Regions from separate parts of the Homo sapiens genome. Here all the other regions are linked to region 2. Evidence: promoter capture Hi-C in 16 types of primary human blood cells and fetal thymus (Javierre and others, 2016). All regions are on one chromosome and are shown on one strand. Each heading gives the region's core, a stretch centred on a gene start or on the middle of the fragment in contact. The rest is flanking DNA. Distances are from core to core; before and after follow the strand shown. Region 1 overlaps PC (pyruvate carboxylase). Region 2 holds the start of LRFN4 (leucine rich repeat and fibronectin type III domain containing 4). Region 3 has its middle 2.9 kb from the start of C11orf86.

Region 1 (3,313 bases), core at 189-2,688, 95 kb before region 2:
TTACGAAGGTCCTATTAGATCCATCTCTTACAAATGACGGACTCTCATAGGTGAAACTCAGAGAGGTGAAATAACGCCCAGAGTAACACAGCCAGGCAGGCTAGGTGGCTCACTGCTGGAGTCCCTCTCACGTGCCATCCCATTTTTGCTTCTTTTAACCAGCCCCTAACAACTTGCTTTTTGGCACTTTGTGGGCAGGGCCTGAGTGTACATACAGTTCCTTGTGCAAGGCATGTGCTCAATAAATATTTTATTGACTTGAGTGCCCCAGACATTGAATTTCAGCCTTGACGTTATCTGTCAAGGCAGCTGGTTTTCTCTGAACAGGGATTTGAGCTTGCTGGCCTGTTTTTCCATTTTGCTGTTCATTGACTAGTGGCTAGGGTAGGTGTGGCTTTTTCGGAAATAAGCAGTCAATAAAACTCCGAAAAGTGATTACACAATACCAACTGTGGGCTCCCATGGGCATAAACACGAGGTGGGCTCTTACTTATGGCAGAGAGGGGTCTCTGCAGGAAAGGATTTGAGGAAATAGCCAGGAAATAGAGTACACATCTCAGGTCACGTAAGACAGCTCCTTATTAGTTTCAAGTTGTGGAGTGAGAGAAGAACCAGACTCCCAGTATTCAGAGGGAGCTCCTGAAGGATTAGAGACAGCTCTGCGGAGATGCAGAGAAAGCGGGCCTGAGGCTGGACGGAGTGGGCAGGAAGAGAAAGCACTTCAGATAAAACGAACTGTTTCTAGAACTTCTTGTTCATGTGTAGTGGGTGGCAGAAAAGGGTTTTACTTAAGCGCTTCCCACCTAGCCTGTCGGTTAACGTCCCAGTGTGTCCTCTGTGCCAGGCATGGTGCCACTGCTGTGCGTGTGCTGCCTCATTGGGTATTCCCTAGTACGCTGTGAGATGGGCATTGTTATTATTCCCATTTTACAGATGAGGAAACAGACTTTGAGTGATTACAGAGCGGCTGTCAGAGTAACAAGAGGTGCAGTCCAGGCAGTGGGACAGCACAGCTGGCGCTTCCAGCTCTGTACCCTCCTGGTGCCCTCAGTGGAAGCAAAGAAACAGTTCTTGGCCGGGTGCGGTGGCTCACACCTGTAATCCCAGCACTTTGGGAGGCCGAGGTGGGTGGATCACCTGAGGTCGGGAGTTCGAGACCAGCCTGACCAACATGGAGAAACCCCCATCTCTACTAAAAATACCAAATTAGCTGGGCGTGGTGGCACATGCCTGTAATCCCAACTACCTCAGGAGGCTGAGGCAGGAGAATCGCTTGAATCCGGGAAGCAGAGGTTGCAGTGAGCCGGGATTGCGCCATTGCACTCCAGCCCGGGTAACAAGACTGAAAAAGTTCTCTGGGTTCTAAAATCGGTGTTCTTGCCACTCCTGTTTTCTCTGGGAAGTTCCTGGAGCAATGAGGGTAATGCTGTTTTTTCTTTTGCTTTAGATAGTGTCTGCCTTCTGGAGAGCTGACCAAACACTAAGGGTAAGTCCTGTGCCTGAATCCAGGCTGGCGGGATGCATGGGGGTCTTCACCAGGAGCAGCTGTGGATGCCAGCAGTTTGGCATGTCAGGTCTTAAGCTCAATCAATAAAAAAAGGCTGCGCTCTGATTTGTGGATAATATCCGTTTAAGCAGTCTTGTCTGTTTCCAGTTGCTCCTGATTTTTACAGGAAAGTGACATCTGGCTCCCTGCTGGCCCCATTTGGCAGCTGGCCAGCCTCAGCAGAAGGCCCTGGTTCTGGAAGGGTATGGTCAGCTTGGGAAGCTGGGCAGGAAGAATCCCTGGGGCTGGGCCGTCTCTGAGAAGACCCCTTGAGTCAGCATGGAGAGCAGGCAGCTGTGGTGTGAGGTGGTTCTGCCAGCTGGTTGTAAAGTCACTTGACACGGGTTTCCAGAGGGTGACGCTCAACCTTTGCCAGTCACGGTAACAACGGGGAAAAAGGGACCTGCCCTTCTTCCCCTGCACATTTTACAGGCATGTGCCACCACACCTGGCTAAGTTTTTTTTTTTCTTTTTTTTTTTTGAGACGGAGTCTTGCTCTGTTGCCAGGCTGGAGTGCAGTGGCGCAAGCTCGGCTTACTGCAACCTCTGCCTCCTGGGTTCAAGCAATTCTCCTGCCTCAGCCTCCCGAGTAGCTGGGACTACAGGTGTGTGCTGCCATGCCCAGCTAATTTTTGTATTTTTAGTAGAGACGGGGTTTTACCATGTTGGCCAGGATGGTCTCAATCTCTTGATCTTGTGATCCACCCACCTCAGCCCCTCAAAGTGCTGGGATTACAGGCATGAACCACTGTGCCCGGCCTAATTTTTGTATTTTTAGTAGAGATGGGATTTTACCATGTTGGTCAGGCTGGTCTCGAACTCCTGACCTCAGGTGATCCGCCCTCTTCGGCCTCCCCAGATGCTGGGATTACAGGTGTGAGCCAGCGCGTCCGGCCTCTACTGCTTTTACAGTTCCCCCAACATGGATTTCCATGGTGGCAGGTGCCTGGGAGATTCAGTGGCCTCCCCTCAGCCTAAATTCCACAGCCCTCCCGCCGGTCCCCTGCTAGTCCAGTCCCCTCTCCCCCTGCTGGTCTGCAGGAGCAGCCGAGCCAGGGAACCAGGTGCTCTCCCAGCATTTGTGACAACAATAATGCTCTTCCCTTCAGGCCCGCTGTGGCCTTGGGGACTTTGTGGCTCAGGGACAACTTTCTCCAGAGCTCATATCCAGTGCTGAGTGGGGATTCCTTGGTATAGGAGTTTTTCTCGGTTTTCCACCCATTATGTGGGGGTTTTCCTCTGACGACCCTTCATGACGCAGGAGCTGGTTTCCTGTGTGAGATTTCCCGCAGTCCTCCCTTGGAGCTAGGTCTTGGGCCAGCAGGTGCCGTCTGCGTGCTACCATTGAGTAAGGGCAATGGGCTCATGGTGGGAATGGCCGTAACGTGGAAGAACTCCACCCTCCACGAGTTTCACCCCCTTGTTCTCTCTCTGCTTGCTCTGTCCTCTTATTCTTGGCTGCTAGAGTTGGATGTTATTTCTCTTACTTGCATCCCTACAATGAGAGGTGGGCATGTTGGGGAAGGTTCCCCCCAAACCACTTGTCTTATGGAACTGAAGAAACTGAAGCCTAGAGAAGGCTGCTTAGCAGAATCCAAGATGCTGATCCCATTGTTTATTCTTCTTTTAAAATTGCCATATTTTATTGATGTCTTCCCTTAGATCCATCAATAGAGAGGGAAAATCAGTCACCAAGAAGGGACCTCTTCTTCCAGGTTATGTAATTTGTCAAAGCTTGTTTGGCTCCTCAGTTCCCAAGGCACTGCT
Region 2 (3,555 bases), core at 1,056-3,555:
ACAGACCCAACCGCCACCTGCTGCCGGGGAGGCCTGCACAGCTCAGTGACACCTGGGACATCTCGGGGTGGGGTCCTTCTGCCGCCCCTTGAGCTCCAGCCCCCTCAGGCAGCCAGGCCAGGCCAGGCCACTGCTCCTCCAAGAGTCCAGCAGCCATGGTCGGGGAGGGGGTGTCAGCCCCAGAGAGAGGAGGGGTGGAAGCAAAGCCTTGTGGGGAGCAGAGGGCGGAGGAAGGGCGCCGGGAGTGCAGCCGGGTGTGGGGCACGCATCCTCACCGGTAGATGAGGGTCTCATCTTCGCTGCTGTTGTACTGGATTTGGAACATCCACACTGGGTCGGCTGGCCGCCCGGGACCCCAGCTCACCAGCCCTGAGGTGGCGGTCACCTCCGTCACCTGCACGGCTGGCTCAGACTCCAGCGTCCCCTCACCCTCGGCAGCAGTGCGAGCGGAGGCGGCGATGTCCGAGGGCCCGGGGCGGCCCCCCTCGGCACTGCTGTTCCCACCATGGGGCAAGGCCAGCACCCGCAGTTCTACTCGGGCTGTGGCCTCACCAGCAGGGTTGGTGGCGATGCAGGTGTAGCCCCCAGCGTCCCCAGCGCCGGTCACCCCAATCTCTAAGGTCCCGTTGGGGAAAGCCCGGGCTCGGGAGGAGTTGCCAACCAACCGGTCGTCAGGACCGACCCAGTGCATGGTAGGCGCGGGGTCACCCAGGGCCCGGCACCGCAGCGTGGCCCGCTGGCCTTCCAGCACCCAGAGGCGCTGCGTGTGGCGGGCAATGAGGGGCGGCTCACAGGAGAACTCGCCCTCGGGCACTGCCCAGAAGTAGCGGCCGGCCAGGCCGGGCGGGGAGGCGCACGTTTCCAGGTCGTCCGGCCGCGCCAGCCGCCGCAGCCACAGCAGCTCACAGTTGCAGTGCAGGGGGTTCCCGCTAAAGCTCAGCACCAGGGGGGCGGGAGAGGCCTCTGCATCACGCCCACGAGAGAAAAGCGGGTCCGGAGCCAGCGTGGCCAGGCGGTTGGAGGTGAGGTCCAGGCGGGAGAGCTGACCGAGCTGGGCGAAGGCGCCTGGGGGCAGTGCGTCAATAAGGTTATGGTCCAGGTTGAGGGTGTGCAGGGCAGGCATGGCGCCGATGCCGGCCCAGGGCACCTGCCGGAGGTTGTTGTAGGACAGGTCCAGGTCCTCCAGGCTCTCTAGGAAGTCGTCGAAGGCTCCCGGCGCGATGCGGCCCAGCTGGTTGCCGCTGAGGATGAGGTGCTGCAGATTGACGGGGCCCCGGAGGCTCCCGGTGCCCAGCTCCACCAGCCTGTTGCCGTCAAGGTGGAGGGAACGCAGGCTCTCGAGGTCCCCAAAGGCGCGGGCCCCAATGCGGGTGATGGCATTGCGAGACAGTGTCAGGTCCACCAGTCCCGTCATGTTGCGGAAGTCAGGGGGCCCCAGGGCCTGGATGAAGTTGTCAGCCAGCCGCAGCTCCACTGTGCGCCGGTCCACGTTGGGCGGCACAAACAGCAGGCCTCGGTGGGCACAGAGGGTGCTGAGCGACTCGGACAGGTTCTGGCAGACGCAGGGCAGCGGGCAGGCGGCCGCTCCACTGGCCAGCAGCAGCAGCAGGAGCGGCGGGGCCATGGTGAGCGCCCTGTAGGAAGGGGCCACAGCCCAGGCACAGGTGGGGCTGGCGCAGGTGCCCACTTGGGCCCAGGACAGTCCCAGAAGCCAGCTTCTGTGAGCCTGGCCCGGGGAGGGGCTGGGTCAGAGGCCCAAGAGGGCCGCCAGAGATGAGGGAAGGTTGGGGCCTGCAGGGCCAGGCCCCCCAGAGCAAAGGTCACATTTCCCAAGCAGTTAAGGGGGAGTCCAGGCGCTGGGGACAAGGTGAGGCATGAGGCAGGAAGCGGAGGAGGACCGAGAGCAGGGAGGGTCCCGGAACTTCCTTTCCCAGGCGTCCCCAGGAATCGCCAGCCGCCTCCCCACTCCCCGCCATACCCTCCCCCGCCAGAGAAGGCGCCCCCCGAACCTCCCGTGGAGTCCGTGGCCCCTCCCTGGCCGGCCCCCGCGCTGCGCCCGGCGGCCCCCTCACCTGGTGTCCGTCGCTCAGGGGGCGCGGGCCGGCCTCCCTGCGAGCCCGGCCGGCCCCCGCCGACTCCTGGCCGCTCTCCCGCGGGGACGAGGCCCGGGGATGACCGGCCGCCCGCCGCCCACCCTCGGGCCCATGGCGCTCGGGCCCGCGGCCCCGGCTCGCTCGGTTCCCGGCACCTTTTCCCGGCGCGGTTAGCGGTGGCGGCGGCGACAGGCGAGCGGGTGCGCGCCGGCGGGCGCGCGCGCCGCGGACACGCACGTGGAGGGCGGACGGGGAGGGGCGCGCGGGGATCCACCCGGGCCCGGGCCGGCTCCTGAGGTCACGGGGACACGCGGCCGCTGCAGCGCCCACGGGTGGCGCCCAGTCACGCCCGAGGCCCGGGCCGGCGCGGGCCCTCCGCGCTGTCCCCCGGCGCTGCCGCAGCGCACTCACCCTGGCACAGGCGCGCGCGCCCCCGGCCATCCTGGCGCCCCGGCATCCTGCACCGCACGGGCGCCCGCCGCCGCGGCGCGAACCTCACTCTGCAGACAGCCAGACAAAGCGCCTGCTCGCGGGCCCCTTCACCATCTCCCGGAGACGGGCGTCTTTGTCACATGTCGCTGGGCACCCTCCCCAACACACCCACACATGCCCACACACCCACACGTCCCTGCACCCACGGGCAGGGCCGAGCGCAAACCCGCACTGTTGCTGGGACCCTTGCGTTCACAGACACACGCTGAAGGTCATAACCGTTCTGCATCACCGAGTCACGTGGAGGGTCCCCAACCGGCACGGGGTTCGGCCGTGGGGGGGGCTGGGGCGGCGCCCCTGGCAGGGCTGCTGCGGGGTGGGGCCGAGAGGGCTTGGCCTCCGGGCAGGCGCCCCGCCCCCGCCGCCCCGCCCTGTCCCCAGCTGCCTCTCGCCTCTCCCTCCCTCCCCAGCTGCCCCGCCCGCCCCGCGGGCCAGGCGTTCCGGAGCCAACCGGCCTCCGCCTCGGGCCGGATTGGTCTGCGCGGCGCGGCTTCCCAACCGCCGGGGGCACGCATTGGGAAGCTGTGCGTCCTCGCAGCGCCTGCGGCCCCTCCCTCCCGCTCTGTCGCCGCCGGGCCATTTCCCTGGAAGAGCGGCTCGGAACCAGCTCCTCTCAGAGAAAGGGCTCCCGGCGTGAGGTGGGGGAGGTTCTTTGCTTCCTGGTTGAGAAAGCTGGGGCTTCGGTGGCTCGGCGAGCCTGGTTTCCTTCCAGCTGTGCCCGCCACCACCAGTGGTCTGCCCAGTTGGGAAACAGGAAGTCACCACCTCCCCGTGTCTCCTGGTCCTTAAGCCACCTAAACCTCAGCCATCCTCGTTCTCCCTCCAGCCCTGATCCCCATGGGCCAGGTGGCAGGAAACTCGGGGAAACCCAAGATTGGAATTCTGATCCTGTCAGCACAGCAGTGTAGTCCTGGGCACGTTACCTGACCACTGAAAACAAGTTCCTCCTGTAGGCCAGGAGAGTTGGATG
Region 3 (3,612 bases), core at 248-2,747, 120 kb before region 2:
CCCAGCAGCACAGCACTATCCTTGAGCACTCAAGCTCTGAGGACCAACTGCCTCTGGGTAAACTGTAGCTTCATTCCTTGCAGCCTTGTGACCTTGGGCACATTTTTCTCCTTCATTCGTAAGAGGGACAAATAACTTGGGTAATTGTTGTGCGTATTAAATGTGGTCCACAGGGCTTGGCACACAGCAAGCCCTCGAACAAAGTGAGTTGGTGGTTGTATTTGTCCGTTCTCCTGCTGCTATAAAGAAAGACCTGAGGCTGGGAGCAGTGGCTCATGCCTGTAATCCTAGCACTTTGGGAGGCTGAGGCGGGTAGATCACTTGAGGTCAGAAGTTCAAGACCAGCCTGGCCAATATGGTGAAACCCCTTCTCTACTAAAAATACAAAAATTAGGCCAGGTTGCAGTGGCTCACAACTGTAATCCCAGCACTTTGGGAGGCTGAGGCAGGTGGATCACAAGGTCAGGAGTTTGAGACCAGCCTGGCCAACATGGTGAAACCCCGTCTCTACTGAAAAAATACAAAGATTAGGCAGGCATGGTGGCGTGTGCCTGTAATCCCAGCTACTCGGGAGGCTGAGGCAGGAGAATTGCTTGAACCCAGGAGGCAGAGGTTGCAGTGAGCCGAGATCGTGCCACTGCACTCCAGCCTGGGCAACAGAGCAAGACTCCGTCTCAAAACAAAACAAAACAAAACAAAAAATTATCCAGGTGTAGTGGTGGGCAACTGTAATCCCAGCTACTCGGGAGGCTGAGGCAGGAGAATCGCTTGAACCCAGGAGGCGGAGGTTGTAGTGAGCTAAGATTGCGCCACTGCACCCCAGCCTGGGCAACAGAGAGAGAATCTGTCTCAAAAAATAATAATAATAAAAATAAGAAATACCTGAGACTGGGTAATTTATAAAGACAAAAAGTTTAATTGGCTCATGGTTCTGCAGGCTGTACAGGAAGCATAGCAGCTTCTGCTGCTGGGGAGGCCTCAGGAAGCTTCCAACCGTGGTGGAAGGCAAAGCGGGGATGAGGCATCTTACATGATAGGAGCAGGAGAAAGAGAGAGCGTGGCGGGAGGTGCTGTACACTTTTTTTTGAGACAGAGTCTCAGTCTGTCGCCCAGGCTGGAGTGCAGTGGCGCGATCTTGGTTCACTGCAACCTCCGCCTCCCGGGTTCAAGTGATTCTCGTGCCTCAGCCTCCTGAGTAGCTGGGACTATAGGTGCCTGCCACCACGCCCAGTTAATTTTTTGTATTTTTGGTGGAGACAGGATCTTGCTATATTTCCCAGTCTGGCCTTGAACTCCTGGGCTCAAGTGATCTGCCCACCTCAGTCTCCCAAAGTGTTTGGAATAAAGGCGTGAGCCACTGTGCTCAGCCTACACACTTTGAAACAACCAGATCTCACAAGAACTCACTATCATGAAAACAGCACCAAGGGGATGGGGCTAAACCATTCACGAGAATCCACCCCCATGAGCCAACCACCTCTAACGCTAGGGACTACAATTCAACATGAAGTTTGGTGCGGACACAAATCCAAACCATATCAGTGGTATTCACTGCCGTGGGCAGATCCTTTCAGTCTCATCTGTAAAATGGGTTGTTTCTTTTTAAATTTTTTTTTGAGATGGAGTCTCTCTCTGGCGCCCAGACTGGAGTGCAGTGGCGCGATCTTGGCTCACTGCAACCTCTGCCTCCCGGGTTCAAGCGATTCTCCTGCCTCAGCCTCCCGAGTAGCTGGGATTACAGGCACATGCCACCATGCCTGGCTAATTTTTGTATTTTTAGTAGAGATGGGGTTTCACATTGGCCTGGCTGGTCTCAAACTCCTGGCCTCATGATCCACCTACCTCGGTCTCCCAAAGTGCCAGGATCACAAGCATGAGCCACCGCACCCAGCCTGTAAAATGGGTTGTTTCAAAAATAAGATGAAATCATGAGTGTGGATGCTTCTAAAGGTGAGACTACTGGCAGCAACTCTTTCCCCCAAGACAGGAGGAAGAGAAAGAAGCTTGGGGCTGGGCCAGCAGATTCCTCAGAATGGTTGTTTTGTTTTTTGAAACAGGGTCTCACTCTGTTGCTCAGGCTGTAGGGCAGTGGCACAATTTCAGCTCAATGCAACCTTGACCACCTGGGCTCAAGTGATCCTCCCACCTCAGCCTCCTGAGTAGCTGGGACTACGGGTATGTGCCACCACGCCTGGCTAATTTTTGTATTTTTTGTAGAGATGGAGTTTCATCATGTTACTCAGGCTGGTTTTGAACTCCTGAGCTCAAGCAATCTGCCCACCTCAGCCTCCCAAAGTGTGCCACCACGCCTGGCCTCAGAATGGTAGAATTTGAGTGCTGAAGGGACCTCATACATCTGTTCCATGCTCCTTTTTGTTTTATTTTTATTATGTATTTCTTTGTTTATTTTAGAGAGAAGGTTTCTCTATGTTTCCCAGGCTGGTCACAAACTCCTGGTCTCAAGTGATCCTCCTGTCACAGCCTCCTGACTAGCTGGGATTACAGGCATGAGCCATCACACCCAGCTCCTTTTTGTTTTAACCACTGTTTTGAGTCAACCCCTTCACAGATTTCATTTAAACCTCATGATAGTCCTATGATGTGGGGATTGTCATCTCATTTTATAGATCAGAAAACTGAGGATCAGGGAGATTAAGCACCTGGCTGGAGAGCATGCCCACTAAGTGGCAGAGCTGGTCGGCCACCCTGGTCAGCCGGGCTTTAAAAACCCATGCTTCAGTCACTCAGGTCTCCTTCCCCAGACTCGGCAGCAGAGGCAGGACTGGAAGCCAGCTGTCCTGCCTCCTCCATGTTTGGGGTACTGCAGAGGGCACCCCTATTCAGGGCCAGGGAAGTGCTGGCTGCAGCTCTTGGCTCACACTAGCCTTGTCCCCTAGGGCCTGGCCTTGCCCTCATCCTTTCTGCTCCGTTTCTGAATCTTCCCTGGGTGAAGGGTTGCTTAAAATCTGCCAGGCTCAGCTCCCAGAGGACCTATGACAGGGCCAGTGTGAAGAGAATGTAAAAAAGGAGCCCTGACCTTCTGCCCCAGCCTGTCCCAAACACTGGCTCTGATTTGTACCCAGACCTTTTAATTTCAACCCTGACAACACACCAAAGGTCAATCCTGACCCTGGTTAAAAAGCAACAAAACCATTACACAATCTTCAACGCCCTCACTTCAACACACGTAGTCAACTCAAATCCCCACTCTCACAAAGGTCTGAGCCCAGGAAGAACTGGCTGACTCACAGACTTTTGAGATGTGGTGGGATGAATCACTCACTCTTGCGTCAAGCACATAGCTGCGGAGTACCCTCTTGCCAAGGATGCAGTCTTAAAACAACTTCCCAAATCCACTGAGGAGAGGGAGAAAATCTGTGTTCTCCTCCTTCCCTCCTCACTGCTTCTCTGCCTTCTTCACCTGGTATCTTAGGCTGATTAGTGTTGCTGTAACAGAGACAGGTTAATTTCTAAACAACTGTTCATTTGATTCATGGTTCTGGAGGCTGGGAAGTCCAAAAGAATGGCATCAGCCTCCGATGTGGGCCTTCGTGCTATGTCATCCCATGGCAGAAGGTGGAAGGGTAAGAGAAAGTAAACGTGAGCAAGGAC

What was found. Contacts are between HindIII fragments. The CHiCAGO score rates a contact against its expected background, and 5 or more counts as called.
Region 1: a fragment that was not itself captured here is called in contact with the fragment with the promoter of LRFN4 in region 2 in 2 of 17 cell types (endothelial precursors and M2 macrophages); the score reaches 5.7 in endothelial precursors.
Region 3: a fragment that was not itself captured here is called in contact with the fragment with the promoter of LRFN4 in region 2 in 1 of 17 cell types (endothelial precursors); the score reaches 7.2 in endothelial precursors.

What each region holds. Positions count from the first base shown.
Region 1 is chr11:66,950,603-66,953,915 of GRCh38, reverse strand. It overlaps PC (pyruvate carboxylase), which reads left to right. Exons shown (of 23, transcript NM_001040716.2): 3 at 1,448-1,486. Among named protein-coding and RNA genes, the nearest start is that of PC, 6.1 kb to the left of the region's middle. The HindIII fragment of the contact is 3,689 bases long and covers 1-3,282 here.
Region 2 is chr11:66,855,814-66,859,368 of GRCh38, reverse strand. It overlaps LRFN4 (leucine rich repeat and fibronectin type III domain containing 4), which reads right to left and starts at 2,305. Exons shown (of 2, transcript NM_024036.5): 1 at 276-2,305. The coding sequence starts at 1,624. All of the region lies in intron 12 of PC (pyruvate carboxylase), which reads left to right. RefSeq lists silencers at 2,420-2,529, 2,690-3,219. The HindIII fragment of the contact is 17,472 bases long and covers 1-3,555 here.
Region 3 is chr11:66,970,604-66,974,215 of GRCh38, reverse strand. No RefSeq gene overlaps it. Among named protein-coding and RNA genes, the nearest start is that of C11orf86, 2.9 kb to the left of the region's middle. The HindIII fragment of the contact is 1,017 bases long and covers 989-2,005 here.